5 separate regions of the Homo sapiens genome follow, and all the other regions are linked to region 4. The links are contacts of gene promoters, found by promoter capture Hi-C in human tissues and cell types (Jung and others, 2019). All regions are on one chromosome and are shown on one strand. Each heading gives the region's core, a stretch centred on a gene start or on the middle of the fragment in contact. The rest is flanking DNA. Distances are from core to core; before and after follow the strand shown. Region 1 has its middle 17 kb from the start of GOLM2. Region 2 overlaps ZSCAN29 (zinc finger and SCAN domain containing 29). Region 3 overlaps TP53BP1 (tumor protein p53 binding protein 1). Region 4 holds the start of SERINC4 (serine incorporator 4). Region 5 overlaps FRMD5 (FERM domain containing 5).

What was found. The method cuts DNA at HindIII sites, captures the fragments that hold promoters and counts their contacts. A contact is called where the count stands out against the background at its distance.
Region 1: a contact is called between a fragment that was not itself captured here and the fragment with the promoter of SERINC4 in region 4, in 1 of the 25 tissues and cell types used here (hippocampus).
Region 2: a fragment that was not itself captured here is called in contact with the fragment with the promoter of SERINC4 in region 4 in 2 of the 25 tissues and cell types used here (dorsolateral prefrontal cortex and hippocampus).
Region 3: a contact is called between a fragment that was not itself captured here and the fragment with the promoter of SERINC4 in region 4, in 1 of the 25 tissues and cell types used here (dorsolateral prefrontal cortex).
Region 5: a contact is called between a fragment that was not itself captured here and the fragment with the promoter of SERINC4 in region 4, in 3 of the 25 tissues and cell types used here (dorsolateral prefrontal cortex, hippocampus and thymus).

The regions. Positions count from the first base shown.
Region 1 is chr15:44,270,685-44,273,384 of GRCh38, forward strand. No RefSeq gene overlaps it. Among named protein-coding and RNA genes, the nearest start is that of GOLM2, 17 kb to the right of the region's middle. The HindIII fragment of the contact is 7,175 bases long and covers 1-2,700 here.
Region 2 is chr15:43,363,958-43,366,657 of GRCh38, forward strand. It overlaps ZSCAN29 (zinc finger and SCAN domain containing 29), which reads right to left. Exons shown (of 6, transcript NM_001372080.1): 4 at 2,153-2,700; 5 at 1-425. Among named protein-coding and RNA genes, the nearest start is that of ZSCAN29, 5.7 kb to the right of the region's middle. The HindIII fragment of the contact is 3,910 bases long and covers 1-2,700 here.
Region 3 is chr15:43,416,881-43,419,580 of GRCh38, forward strand. The region is part of intron 21 of TP53BP1 (tumor protein p53 binding protein 1); the gene reads right to left. Among named protein-coding and RNA genes, the nearest start is that of TUBGCP4, 47 kb to the left of the region's middle. The HindIII fragment of the contact is 3,950 bases long and covers 1-2,700 here.
Region 4 is chr15:43,798,970-43,801,669 of GRCh38, forward strand. SERINC4 (serine incorporator 4) reads right to left here and starts at 1,251. Exons shown (of 12, transcript NM_001258031.2): 1 at 916-1,251; 2 at 341-517; 3 at 1-168. The coding sequence starts at 1,017. It overlaps HYPK (huntingtin interacting protein K), which reads left to right and starts at 1,630. Exons shown (of 4, transcript NM_016400.4): 1 at 1,630-1,815; 2 at 2,163-2,218; 3 at 2,549-2,600. The coding sequence starts at 1,654. It overlaps SERF2-C15ORF63 (SERF2-C15orf63 readthrough), which reads left to right. Exons shown (of 6, transcript NR_037673.1): 3 at 1,526-1,815; 4 at 2,163-2,218; 5 at 2,549-2,600. RefSeq lists enhancers at 348-1,048, 1,049-1,749, 1,657-1,906. The HindIII fragment of the contact is 6,811 bases long and covers 1-2,700 here.
Region 5 is chr15:44,096,975-44,099,674 of GRCh38, forward strand. The region is part of intron 1 of FRMD5 (FERM domain containing 5); the gene reads right to left. Among named protein-coding and RNA genes, the nearest start is that of FRMD5, 97 kb to the right of the region's middle. The HindIII fragment of the contact is 4,483 bases long and covers 1-2,700 here.

The sequences.
Region 1 (2,700 bases), core at 187-2,686, 470 kb after region 4:
TTTCTGAAGCATCAGTCATCCACCTAATACTTTCTAGAAATAAGAAACAGTCTAGACAGATGCCTGTTCCTTCAAAACGACTTCCCAGAGGGAAGAGGAGGAGGAGAAAGAGAAAGTGTAACAAAAAGTGGGGTGGTGGGGGGAACATGGAGAAAGATCACACTTTGTGAATGGATTATCAAAAATTTTTTTAGTATTTTTTTCTTACATATCCGTCACACATTGGCAGGAGGAGGTAAAAGGCATGACATGTTATTCAGTCAAGAAAATTTATTTCATTATGACAAAGGATAAAGCTAGAGGAGTAAAAATTAGCTTCATGGTTTAAGACTTAAGACAACCACAACCCCAAACAGCTCTTGAATAGAATTTGAGAGTAGAAAAGGTCTGAGGTTGTCAGATGAAGATCTTCAAGGACTTAGTGAAGTAATGTGTAATTTTTCGTTCAACTAGAAAACCTTCTGCCTTATAGAAACGACTTGTAAGCTCATCAGCTCTCCAGAGTTCCTGTTTCAGGGAATGCCCCCAGCACTGATAGAACTGTCCAAGTTAAAAACTGTTTCTGGGATGTTTCTTGGACTCTAATGTTTCTCATATGAATTGTTGCAACAGTCTCTCAACTAGCCTTCCTGCCATCTACAGACTTGCAGGCACAATCACACTTAGCTAGAAAAGTCTTCCTAAATCATAAATATTCCTAAAATCTTTTAGTGGTTTTCTCTTACTCTTGGGTAAAAAGCCAGACTCTTTAATATGAGCTCTCTATGATCTGGCCCCCACTTATCTCTTCACCTCCATTTCTCGCTACTTCTTTCACTTCTACACCGGGGATCTCAAGTGGAGTGTACAAGATCATCCTCTGGGTATAGGATAAAAATATCTGAACTTCTACTTACTGACAATAAGGGACAGAAACCAAAAGAATATCACATGTAGGAGACGAGAGCAAGCCAAGTCAAAGCTCTGTACAAGTGGAAGTTGAGAGGAAGCAAAAACTCTGAAGAAGAAGAGAAAATTGGGGAGACATGGAGATGAGAGGAGAGACAGAAGTGTCAGAAAGAGGCTGGGCGCAGTGGCTCATGCCTATAACCCCAGCACTTTGGGAGGCTGAGGCGGGCAGAACACCTGAAGTCAGGAGTTCATGACCAGCCTGAACAACATGGTGAAACCCCATCTCTACTAAAAATACAAAAATTAGCTGGGCATGGTGGCAGGTGCCTGTAATCCCAGCTACTGGGGAGGCTGAGGCAGGAAAATGGCTTGAAGCCGGGAGGTGGAGGTTGCAGTGAGCTGAGATCACACCACTGCATTCCAGCCTGGACAACAGAGCAAGACTCAGTCAGAAAAAAAAAGAAGTGTCAGAAAGAGTAGTTGGTTTATAGAGCTGTGTCCTGATAGATGGACTTCTGGTTCCAGTTTTGATCTATGGACTGAACATCCTTTAACTTGCCCTCTTGATCCTTGAGGAAATCTGAATGAGTCTTTCCTACATTTTTAAAGTATCTTGCCAGCTGGGCATGGTGGCTTATGCCTATAATCCCAGCATTTTAGGAGGCCGAGGTGGGTGGATCACCTGAGGTCAGGAGTTCGAAACCAGCCTGGCCAACATGGCGAAACCCTATGTCTACTAAAAATACAAAAATTAGCTGGGTGTCGTGGCATGCATCCCAGCTACTCGGGAGGCTGAAGCATGAGAATCGTTTGAACCCAGGAGGTAGAGGTTGCAGTGAGCCAGGATTGCACCACTGCACTCCAGCCTGGGTGACAGACTAAGACTCTCTCTAAAAATAATAATAATAAAATAAAAATAAAGTGTCTTGAGGGATGTCTTTGTTCTGGGCGACCATAAGAAGCTACCTAAAATACTTAGTGATCATCTATAGGAGATTCGTTAAATAAAGTATATAGTACATCGTTCTATGCATTGACCAAAAACGGATATGTAGCAATAAATTTATTACATGGAAAGTTGCCTGCAAGATATTGTTAAGTGAAAAAGCAGGTCACAAAACAATACACATGGTACTTTTGATATGCATTAAAAATGCATTGATGGGCCCAGGAGTGGTGGCTCATGCCTGTAATCCTGTGCTTTGGGAGGCCGAGGAGGGAGGATCACTTGACGCCAGAAGTTCAAGATCAGCCTTGGTAATATAGTGAGACCCCCATCTCTGCAAAAATAAAAATTACCTGGGCATGGTGGCATGCACCTGTGATCTCAGCTACTTGGGAGACTGAGGATGGCTTGAGCCCAGGAGTCCGAAGTTACAGTGAGTTATGGTTGTGCCACTGAACTCCAGCCTGGGTGATAAAGCAAGACTCTATCTCAAAAAAAAAAAAAAAAAAAAAAAAAAGGAAAAAGGAAAAAGTCTGGAAAGCTCTATGCTAGAATGTTAACTGTGGTTTTACTTTGGTGGATGAAACTGTTGGTGATTTTCACTGTTTGTTTTCCCATTCTGACTATCTGATTTTTTTTTTTTTTGCTCTGAGCATGTTCATAAGCATTAAAAAACATTAAATTATTTCCACTTTTAAAAAACACCCCCAAATTCATACATTCATACGAATTCAGACAATTCAACATGAAAAATTCATCTATTTTAGGATTTTCTTTATATGTGATAGAAAGACCAAGGATTAGTCAAATACCACCCAGAGGAAATAAATCATGTTCCTTTATCAAACATGATATATGTCAGC
Region 2 (2,700 bases), core at 179-2,678, 430 kb before region 4:
CCCTGGGGGTATCTCAGTATCCTCTTCATCATCATCAGAATCTTCCTCTGTGGCCTCGTCTGCTTCCTCAGCTTGCTTCTGAGCTTCAGCCTCACTGGTCCCCTGGACGGGGCAAGAAGCAGTCTCTTCCTGGCCATCATTGGGTGGGGCAGCAACCCGGACACTCACCAAAGCATCCATCTCTTCAAAGAAGGGACAGGTCTCTGGTGCCTGGCCATTCTTAACTTTCCGATAGCTGGTTTGCAGGCTTTTAAACTTGGTCCGACACTGTTCTGGGGTCCTAAGAAAGCCATATTCCCATAACCTCTCAGCCACTGCTCCATACAGCTGGCTGTTGCGGTGACAGTTCCGGAGGGCTTCATAAAACTGGGTCTCACTAAGAATTGCAAGGTAAGTCTTGGTCTCTTCATAGCCCCAGTGTACACCTGCCACCAGAAGAGAAATTTCAGCACCACTTAATCCAGAGCTTTAGAGCCTGAATTCCTCAGTCCTATCATCTGCATCATGAGAATTCACCTAAGCTCAGGCTCCTAGATGAAAAAGTAAAAATACTTCATGTTTCCAAAATCCACAAACTCAGTATAGAATGTTTTGCTTCTTTATATCCTTTAGCAATTTCACAGAGACCTTTATTTACAAATTCTGTTTAGCCATATAAAAAAGAAGCTGGCCAGGCACAGTGGCTTATGCCTGTAATCCCTGTGGATCGCTTGGGGCCAGGAGTTTGAGACCAGCCTGGACAACATGGTGAAAGCCTGTCTCTACTAAAAACACAGAAAAATTAGCCAGGCGTGGTGGTGTGCACCTATAGTCCCAGCTACTTGGGAGGCTGAGGCATGAGAATCGAGAATCGCTTGAACTGGGGAGGTGGAGGTTGCAGTGAGATGAGATCACACCACTGCACTCCAGCCTGGACAACAAAGCGACTCTGTCTCAAAAAAAAAAAAAAAAAAAAAAAGTGAAAGAACAATGATAATGAAAATAACATTGAGCACATGTGCCACATTTAATTAACCTACATATATTTGTGTCTGCAACAAAAAAGGAAAAAGAGAATGAAGAAAACAAGAAAAATAAAGAGAAACGAAAAAGCAGAAGACACAAAGACCAGAAAGCTAGAACAGAACTAAAATAAGATCATGCATGTCACAAAAAACAGAAGGAAAAGACCACTGCTCACAAAGGAACTGCAACTTTAGCGATGTAGTCCTCCTGCTTTGCCCCATTTTACACTTGAGGAAATGGAAGCTTAGAATGGTTAGATAACTGCTCAAGGTCGCCCAGTTTATTAGTGGTCATCAGGATTAGAATCTAAGCCTCCTGAGTCATACTTTGGTGCTCTTTCCATAACAGCATAGTTGTACCGATTACATTAATGGTAGTAAATGATACTTTAAAAAGGATTCCATAGGCAAGAATATTTAAATAGAGTGTTAAACAAGCTTTCTCACTGTAGGACTTCTCAATCCTGTTAAAATGCCAATGTATACTATGAATCTCAGAGGAAACTTAGATGTTTCCCAGCTCAGTGTGGTGGCTCACACCTGTAGTCCTAACTACTCAGAAGGCTGAGGTGGGAGGACTGCTTGAACCCAGTGAGACCAGCCTGGGCAACACAGCAAGACCCTGTCTCTGTTTAAATATATTTTAAAATTTTTAAAGAAAAAAATGTTTCCCCAACTTTGGACAATTCTTCACTGTACTATTCTAAGTAAAAACGAATATAATAAACTGACTTTGAGCTTTGGGGAAGTAAAAGATAAAATATGTAAAACATCAAGTTCATATGACATACTCAATAAACACTGGTTCTACTTAAAGATAATATTGTGCCACATTTTTCTCAGTGAGCCTGCTGCAATGATTTTAAAATCAGGGAAAAAAATAGTTTAGTAAAGAAATGGAAGGAATGATACTCCTTCTCAGGACTGTGAATTTTCTGAGTGTATTTCTTCTAAAAATCTAAATGTATTCCCAATTATCTCACTGATTTTCCCATAAAAGAGAATGAAATACACACAAAGAATGGAGAAGCACTTCTTTGTTCCCTAAGTGGCAAAGCTGGCATGTGACATTAAGCCTTCTGACTCCACATCCAGTCTCTTTGTTCCCCAAGTCTAATTCCAAAACTCCAAGAAGAAAAGCTTCTTACCACCTGGGCTTCTGAACACAACAGGTGCAGCTGAGTTGGGGTCCTGGGGGGTCGCCTCTAGATCCATGTCATCACTGTCAGACTCCTGAGCCACAGCCTCTTCTGCTCCCTCCTCATGCTGCCAGCCCCTCTGCCCTGGCTCTTCAGTCTCAGCATCGCTGCCTACCAGGCCAGAGTGAGAGGCTGCTGCTTCCAGGCCATTACTGGGCAGGGCAATGACCTGAGCACTCATCAGGGCTTCCATCTCTTCAAAGAAGGGGCAGGTCTCAGGTGGGTGGCCGCTCTTGACTTTCCGATAGCTCTTCTGGAGACCTTTGAACTTGGTCCGACACTGTTCCAGGGTCCGGAGGAAGCCATATTCCCTGAGCCGCTCAGCCACAGCCCCATACACTTGGCTGTTCCTATGGCAGTTTCTGAGAGCCTCATAAAACTCAGTCTGGCTGAGAATTGCGAGGAGCGTTCTGGTCTCTTCATAGCCCCAGTGCACACCTGCCACCTTCTCATCTTCAAAGCTCCAGTGATCCTGTTCCACCCAGCTTCTTCTATCT
Region 3 (2,700 bases), core at 35-2,534, 380 kb before region 4:
CAAAATTAGAGAGCAAAGAAAGGAAAAAACAGATCCTGCCTCTCCTACCTAATCTTCCTCTCTATTATCTACTTTCCTGCTCTGATTCAAAACCTGATAAGGCCTTTATGTTAAAAGGAACAAAATGTGGGATGTAAAAGGAAACTAAGCTATAATTCAGGAGAACTGAGCCTAGGCCTAATTCTGCTGCCACCAAGCTGTGTGATCTTGGGCAGGACCCATTACTAAGCCTGTGAAAAAGAACACTTCTTCCTATCAATGAATAAACAATTTACAACACACACACATACTATAGCTATAGATACACACCCCCCCACCCCCACACACATATACAATACAAAAACAAGGCATTACTATGAATATTTTTTCATTCCTATAAACAGAAGGGTCCAATTTCTTCTCACCCATTAGCCTATGCTTGAATGAAGAGCTAAAAGAAACCCAGAGCCTACCCCACCCAAGGAAAATAACACAGAGAAAGCAAGCCTTGGTTCTCTATCTATCCTGTGGAATCACTCCCTTTTCCCTTACTTGTTCATCTCCTAGCTTAAATCTCTATCCCCAAACTAAGTCACAAAGACTCCCTCAAAAACACAAAGAAGCCCAAGGCCAACAATATACTTCACACTAATGAAGAGCTACTAGAACTAGAAGTAGTCTAGTGTTGACATGAGCAAACAGCCTCAAGAAATGGGACACAGAATCCCCACACCTTGATGCCACAGTTCACTCTTGTTACAGAACTCCGTCTTTAAAAGGCCAAATATGAACCCCTAAGAGTAGCTTTACACCTGAAAGAAGAACGAATGCATTTGATACATACAAACTATGAGTCACAATAAAAGACCCCAATCCATGTGCTACTCCCAACTGATCCCATATATAGCTAACAATGTTATCCAGAACTAGAAGGTGAAGTGGCCCATTTAATAATGAACAAAGGGCAAACAACAATTACTCAGAGGATTCCAAATACAAGAGAAGCCTGGATGGACTCCAACAGAAAGCCATTTTTCCAGCCGGGAGCAGTGGCTCACTACTGTAATCCCAGCACTTTGGGAGGCTGGGGCGGGTGGATGGCTTGAGGTCAGGAATTCAAGACCAGCCTGACCAAGATGGCAAAGCCCTGTCTCTACTAAAAATACAAAGATTAACCAGGTGTTGTGGCATGCACCTGTAATCCCAGCTACTTGGGAGGCTGAGGCAAGAGAATCACTTGAACACCAGAGGCGGAGGTTGCAGTGAGCCAAGATCGTGCCATTGCACTCCAGCCTGGGCGACAGAGCAAGGCTCTGTTTTTAAAAAAAAAAAAAAAAAAAAAAAAATCCATTTTTTGGCTGGGCATGGTGGCTCACGTCTGTAATCCCAGCACTTTGGGAGGCTGAGGCAGGCAGATAAGTTGAGGTTGGGAGTTCGAGACCAGCCTGGCCAATGTGGCGAAACCCCATCTCTACGAAAAACACAAAAAAAAATTAGCCAGGTGTGGTGGTGCGTGCCTGTAAACCCAGCTACTCGGGAGGCTGAGGCACGAGAAACACTTGAACCCAGGAGGCAGAGGTTGCAGTGAGCCAAGATCACGCCACTCACTGCACTCCAGTCTAGGAGGCAGAGTGAAACTGTGTCTCAAAAAAAAAAAAAAAGATAGAAAGAAAGCCATTTTCCCCCATTATATGCCAATCCATGTTCAAAAAGTCCTCAGAAAGATGTTTTTAAATGACAAACTCAACACAAATAGGTATCTTCAAATTATTTCCATAGAAAGGAGACAATATATTCAAAGAACTAGCACATGAAACAATAACAACAAGCATAACCACAAGCATAAACCTCTCACTATCACCAATATTACCTACTTCAAAAATAAAAAGGCACTGTTCTTCAAACCAGAGAATAAGTGGTAGATGTGCAGTCATACAGACACAGCACTAAAAACTTCTCCCTAAGCAAAAATATCTCAATATCACCTACTGGGTTCCAATCAAAGCAGGTAGCTAAGCTTTAAAAAAGAAGAGAGTATGGAAAGGGAAAAACACTAACTTTAGAGAAGGCCACCTGTCCCTCTCTTGCAGTGGCTCACGCCTGCAAACCCAGCATTTTGGGAGGCCAAGGCAGGTAGATCACCTGAGCTCAGGAGTTTGAGACCAGCCTGGCCAATATGGCGAAATGCCATCCCCACTAAAAATACAAAAATTAGCCGGGTCTGGTGGGGCACACCTGTAATCCTAGCTACTCAGGAGACTGAGGCAGGAGACTCACTTGTACCCGGAAGCTAGAGGTTGCAGTGAGCCTAGATTGCGCCACTGCACTCTAGCCTGGGAAACAGAGTGAGTGAGACTGTTTCAAAAAAAAGTGAAGAAATCTGGCAAATACAACCTTAACCAGTGATGAAGATTAACATCCTGCATCAGTGATGTCATGTGGATACATCACAAACCTTCCCAGGTCCTTATATGATAACATGAGAAGGGCATTTCACCTCTGTGGCATATTTTTTTTTAAGAGACAGGGTCTCACTGTTTCCCAGGCTGGAGTGCAGTGTCATGATCATAGCTCACTGTGGACTCAAACTCCTGAGCTTAAGCAATCCGCCTGCCTCATCCTCCTGAGTAGCTACGACAACAAGCATGTGCCCCCATGCCCAGCTAATTTATGTTCCTTTTTTTTTTTTTTTTTTTTTTTTTTTTGAGAGACAGGGTCTCA
Region 4 (2,700 bases), core at 1-2,500:
CTGTGCCCGCGGGCTGGTGGGGGAGTGGAGGTGGACCAGCAACACAGCCTGCAGCAGGTGGAAGGTGGCGGTTCCTGCACATACTCGGTACACAGCCCCAGAGCCACTGAGCACTGGACAGTCAGAGAGGCCAAACAGGTGGGCACACAACCCCGAGGGCATCTGGATCTGGGAGTGTGTGTGAGAGAAATGGCAGGACAAGTCATAATGCATGGAAAGGTACCTACTTGTCACGGGTATGACCACTCATTTGTCTCCTGCCCCCAACCGAAACCTTTTCTATCTTAGGGTTTTTCCTTTTATCTCTTCCCACCTGACAACCCGACCCCCTCTCACTTACCCTGTGTGTCTTGCCCCACACCCTTTCCACTACTGTCCTTGACAGCAGGAGGCAGCAGATTGCTGAGGCCCCCACATGGAGGAGGATGTAGAACAGGCGGCTGCAAGTGGATGCGGTGAGAGAGGGCCACCTAGAGTGGCAGCAGCTGGCACAAGGAGCAGGCCCACAGCAGCACACCTGGGAGTAGAGCAGATGCAAGGCAGCGAGGTGGAGACTTGCTGAGGAAAGGCATACGTTAATGTATGTGTGAGGTTAACCCAGGAGGTTGAATTCCAAAATTTCCCCTTCCCCTTTCTTCCTTTTACTCAGGTTCTGTTTCAAGCTGATTCCAGCCATTTGGGATTGCCGCCCACTGACAACTTAGTAGGGCTTTCATTATAAGCAGGCTTGAGATATCTGACCTTTCTCTCGACCTAAACACCTGGGGCTGGAAACATGGCGGGAGAGATTTACAGATTATACCTGGGGCAACGAACCAGAACGACATTAGAGGAGAAAAGAGGCCTGTCGTTTTTATTGGCTTCTGCACGTCTTCCTCCCCAGCTTCGGCCACTCTCCCCTTCGCACCCTCTCACCTGACAGAAGGGACTTTTCACTAGGACACTGCTGCCTCCGCTGTGCTGCTGTGCCAGGCCCAGGGAGGTGCCGGGGCTGGGGCCGGCCTTGGCACCCACCATCCTTGTCCCAGGGATTAGGCTTAGGTCCACCAGATGGAAGGCAGATGAGAGCAGCAGTTGCTTCTGTCCTCAGCCCATTGGACTGCCACTGTGTTGGGGCTGAGCACCCGGTCCCGGGCAGAATGGAGACGTCCGGAAGAGAACACTGACCTCCAGGTTGCGGTAAATGCAAATGCCCTGTGAAGGAGCTTTGTCCTTAGGGCCTCAACACTGCGGCCACTCAGGCTGTTCTCTCCAGATTAGGGGGCAGTTTGTCTATCTGGCCCCCTGTGGATTAGCATTCTTTATTGGTTTAGGATTAGACGTCATTCAGGTTGAACGGAGTTCCCTGAGGTGGGTGGGTGCGTGTTTATGTGTTGAGGGGACTATTCCTAGTTTATGAGGTGGTTAAGGATATCGGTGGGGTGGGCTGGAGCGGTGTCGGGTTAGGTCTGAGAGAAGGCCTCGCACAAAACACTGTACAAACCCGAAAGGAAGTCTGAGAGACGAACCGCCTTCCTCCCTGAAGCTTCTAGAACTGGAGCAGAAAGAAGGTGTGGCCCAGGGCCAGCCCCGCCTCCTCCCCGGGCGGAAGCTGTGTCAGTTGCCGGAAGTCGGCGTGAGGTGGGGCTTATGCGGCGGCGTGGTGAAATAGATATGGCGACCGAGGGGGATGTGGAGCTGGAGTTGGAGACTGAGACCAGTGGACCAGAGCGGCCTCCGGAGAAGCCACGGAAACATGACAGCGGTGCGGCGGACTTGGAGCGGGTCACCGACTATGCAGAGGAGAAGGAGATCCAGAGTTCCAATCTGGAGACGGTAAGGTTGGCCAAGAGCATGTCGGGGCGGGCTGAGAGCAGAGGGGGGCTCTGAGGCTGTAGCTGGAAGCCAGCGCTCCAAGACGGGGTTCTGATCCCGTTGGCAGGAGGAGGCAATAGGGTAGAGCCGAGGGAAACAGCGGTCACCGGAGCGCGCCGCTTGCCTAAAGGAGCTTGATAGTGGGCTTAAGGGGACCTCAGGTGCATAGAATGGAATTAAACATAGTCCTTGCTACCTGGTAACACTTGTCATCGTGAATCCATGCATGAACCGCTTGTTTTGTTGGCCTTTTAGATTATTGGGAATTGTGGGTAGCGGTGCAGTAACTAGACCTGCCTTTCCCATAGGCCATGTCTGTGATTGGAGACAGAAGGTCCCGGGAGCAGAAAGCCAAACAGGAGCGGTAAGTCTTCAGGGGCAGCCAACTTTAACAGTTCTTCCCTCCCCGGTCCCCAGACAAAAATAAAAACCATTATTAAGCCTTTATACCGTTCTTCAAATTTATCACCAATTCCTGCAGATCTAGGCGCCACAACTTTACTCTTGTTAGCAGAAGGCCTCCTGGCAACACCTGCTGCCAAGACTCCAGGGGAAAGGAGTATTAGTGGGAGTTTTTATTTTCAATCAAGGGTTTATCAAGATTTATTTACAGGGCACTTCTGGGAATGACCCTTCCTGGGAGTTTATGGTGTTGGTTGAGAATGAGGACTAATATATTTAAATATTTTTGCAGGGAGAAAGAACTGGCAAAAGTCACTATCAAGAAGGAAGATCTGGAGCTAATAGTGAGTGGTAGTGCCTAACTAGTGTATGCGGAGGGGAGGCTATTCTGCTTAATTTGGGTTGTTTCCTGAAACAAGCGGAGTCAGTATATTTGGTGGCACA
Region 5 (2,700 bases), core at 125-2,624, 300 kb after region 4:
CTTTGGAAAGTACAAAAAGCATGATAATGAATCAACAAACACAAGTAGAGAATGGATGTCTCGAAGAGTTTATTCATAGATTTACTGATAACAGTTAAATAATGTAATGATGCAAAATTATAATGCTATCATTTTAGTATGGAACATGCAGGATTTTTTTCCTTCACAAAAGCTAGTGAGAGAACAAGAAGTCCAACAAAACCACTTTGTTCTCTGAAATAAAGAATACATCTGATGGTTAAATCCACTTTGCCAGAGTTGATGAGTGAGAGTAAAGTAAACCTAAGGGGAGAAAAAAACAGCTACCCTCACCTGTAGGAACAGCAAGCTTTGTAGAAAAATTCTGAAGTGCCTTTAGCAAAGCCTCACTTTGCCTCTGCAAAACTGTGCTCTTGGGAGACTTCAGACAAGCAGTCTGGGCCTTAGGGCTTATCTGGGTCAGACCTGAACCCTTAGAATGACATGGCTATGAAAGTGTCCAGGTCAACCAGACAAGAAGAGGGGCTCCTGTACTAACCTTAAAAGAAGTAGGAGGTGCTACCAGAGCAGACTATAGGGAAGCTCTGAAGAAAGCAGTGTACCTCGGGGAGGGCTCTGCCTTTAACACTGTATATAGAATAATATGTTACAGTGTATAAACACAAATATATACACACACAGAACCGTCTATCTGTGTCTTGGAGATTCAGACTAGTAATTTGTCTAATGTGTGCAAACTCCTTCCGTGGGCAGAAGGACTGCTACTGTGTGCCCAGATGGGTACATAGGACAAATTATGTTTACTCAACTTCAGAGAAACCATGCCAAAATGTTCTTCCCAAACAATTGATTTCAACTTGTTCTTGTTTTCCTCCAATAGCAGCCTGACAAACTGTTTTATACATGCATTTGACTTTTCAAAAATTTGCATGCAATCATGGCAAACTCAGCAAGTCTTTGTGCTCCAGGAGCTGCAGAATGGCCTTTGAATGACATGTTTACTGCATCCTAATGTAAAATGTCATCTTCTTAAAGTCTGGGAGAAAGGACCTGCAGCAGCATGAACCTGGCCTGACCCTGTGTTATGTGCATCAGCAAGAGCCAAATGCCTAAAGCAGCCAGAAAGTAATGCCATGCTCCCAAAAGTTCAGAGTGACAAAACAAAAAAAAAAAAACTAAACAACAACAACAAAAAACTAAATAAAAAGTCCAAGCTTCAATGATTATGTTACTCTCTGTCACCTGACTCTTCAATGAACAGGAAGCATACTCTCTACTAAAAGGGATACAAGGCCGGGTGCAGTGGCTCACGCCTGTAATCCTAGCACTTTGGGAGGCCAAGGCGGGCAGATCACGAGGTCAAGAGATCGAGACCATCCTAACCAACATGGTGAAACCCTATCTCTACTAAAAATACAAATATTAGCTGGGTGTGGTGGTGCATGCCTGTAGTCCCAGCTACTTGGGAGGCTGAGGCAGGAGAATCACTTGAACTCAGGAGGCAGAGGTTGCAGTGAGCCGAGATCATGCCACTGCACTCCAGCCTGGCGACACAGCAAGACTCTGTCTCAAAAAAAAAAAAAAAAGAGAGAGAGAGACATAAGCAGAAAAGCAATCTATGACTTAGTTTCTGTCAGAGCCTTGAGTCTTTCTTTATCCACAGAGTTAGAAAACTATGAACCCAAACTGCAAATGTACCATTTCCTCACCAATGGTCATTTGTCACTTCTGATGCCTCTTGAAGAGACCCTGTCACAGTTGTGACTTAAAGAAGACTCTACGTTTTACTGCCTCCATTTTTTACATTCTCTTAATTCCTTTAAACTTCATATATTAGAATAATTAGACAAAGTCACCTTTTTCCAACATCTACACACTTCATGCAAAGCAAATTCTCATTTAAAAATTATCTTTTGAGCTTTTAAAATAGACTATTTGCTACTTATATAAAGATAATTGATTTGCAAATGAAGAGTAGCAAACTGCTCCCCACCTCCTGGACATGTTTATAAAGTTGAGCAGGACAGCAGTCATATATCAAAAACACGACAACATTATCTTTCAGTTTCCTAGGTTAAGGGCAACCTCATCAGAAACTGTTCAGGCTGGGTGTTACATGGTTTCTGCATGGAAGCCAATCACCTTCACATATAAACACCTCCCTCACATCAATATGTTGTAGTTCTAGTAAGTTCACAGTCATTTTAATAATCAAGAGAGGTCGGGAAATTAGTATGCACATGACCAATAAAATAAATAGCCACAGTTCCCTCTACCAATGCTCCTCAAACTTTAACATGCATGCAAACCACCTGAGGATCTTGTTAAAATACAGATTCTGATTCAGTAGGTCTAGAGTGGGGCCTGAGATTATGAAATCCTAACAAACTCCCAGGTAATGCTGCTGCTGCTTCTGCTGATCCATGGACCACATTTTCAACAGTAAGACAATCTACCATGACCTCTCTTGGAGGTGGTAATGTCCAAGTAATCTCTTTGACACACATGAATTCCCATCATATGATTATGAAAAAGGAGACTGTTAAAACTGAAAAAAAAATGTGGAAACTGCAATCATGGGTTCTGGAGAATGGAAGGAAGAAGTGAATTTGGGATTCTTGGCCCCTATTTTGATTCATATCATTATTCTATTATCTGTTCCTCAAAATTTGCTTGGCATCCTGACTCCCTCAAGAGAGATGGAGATTGTTTGTTGCCAAG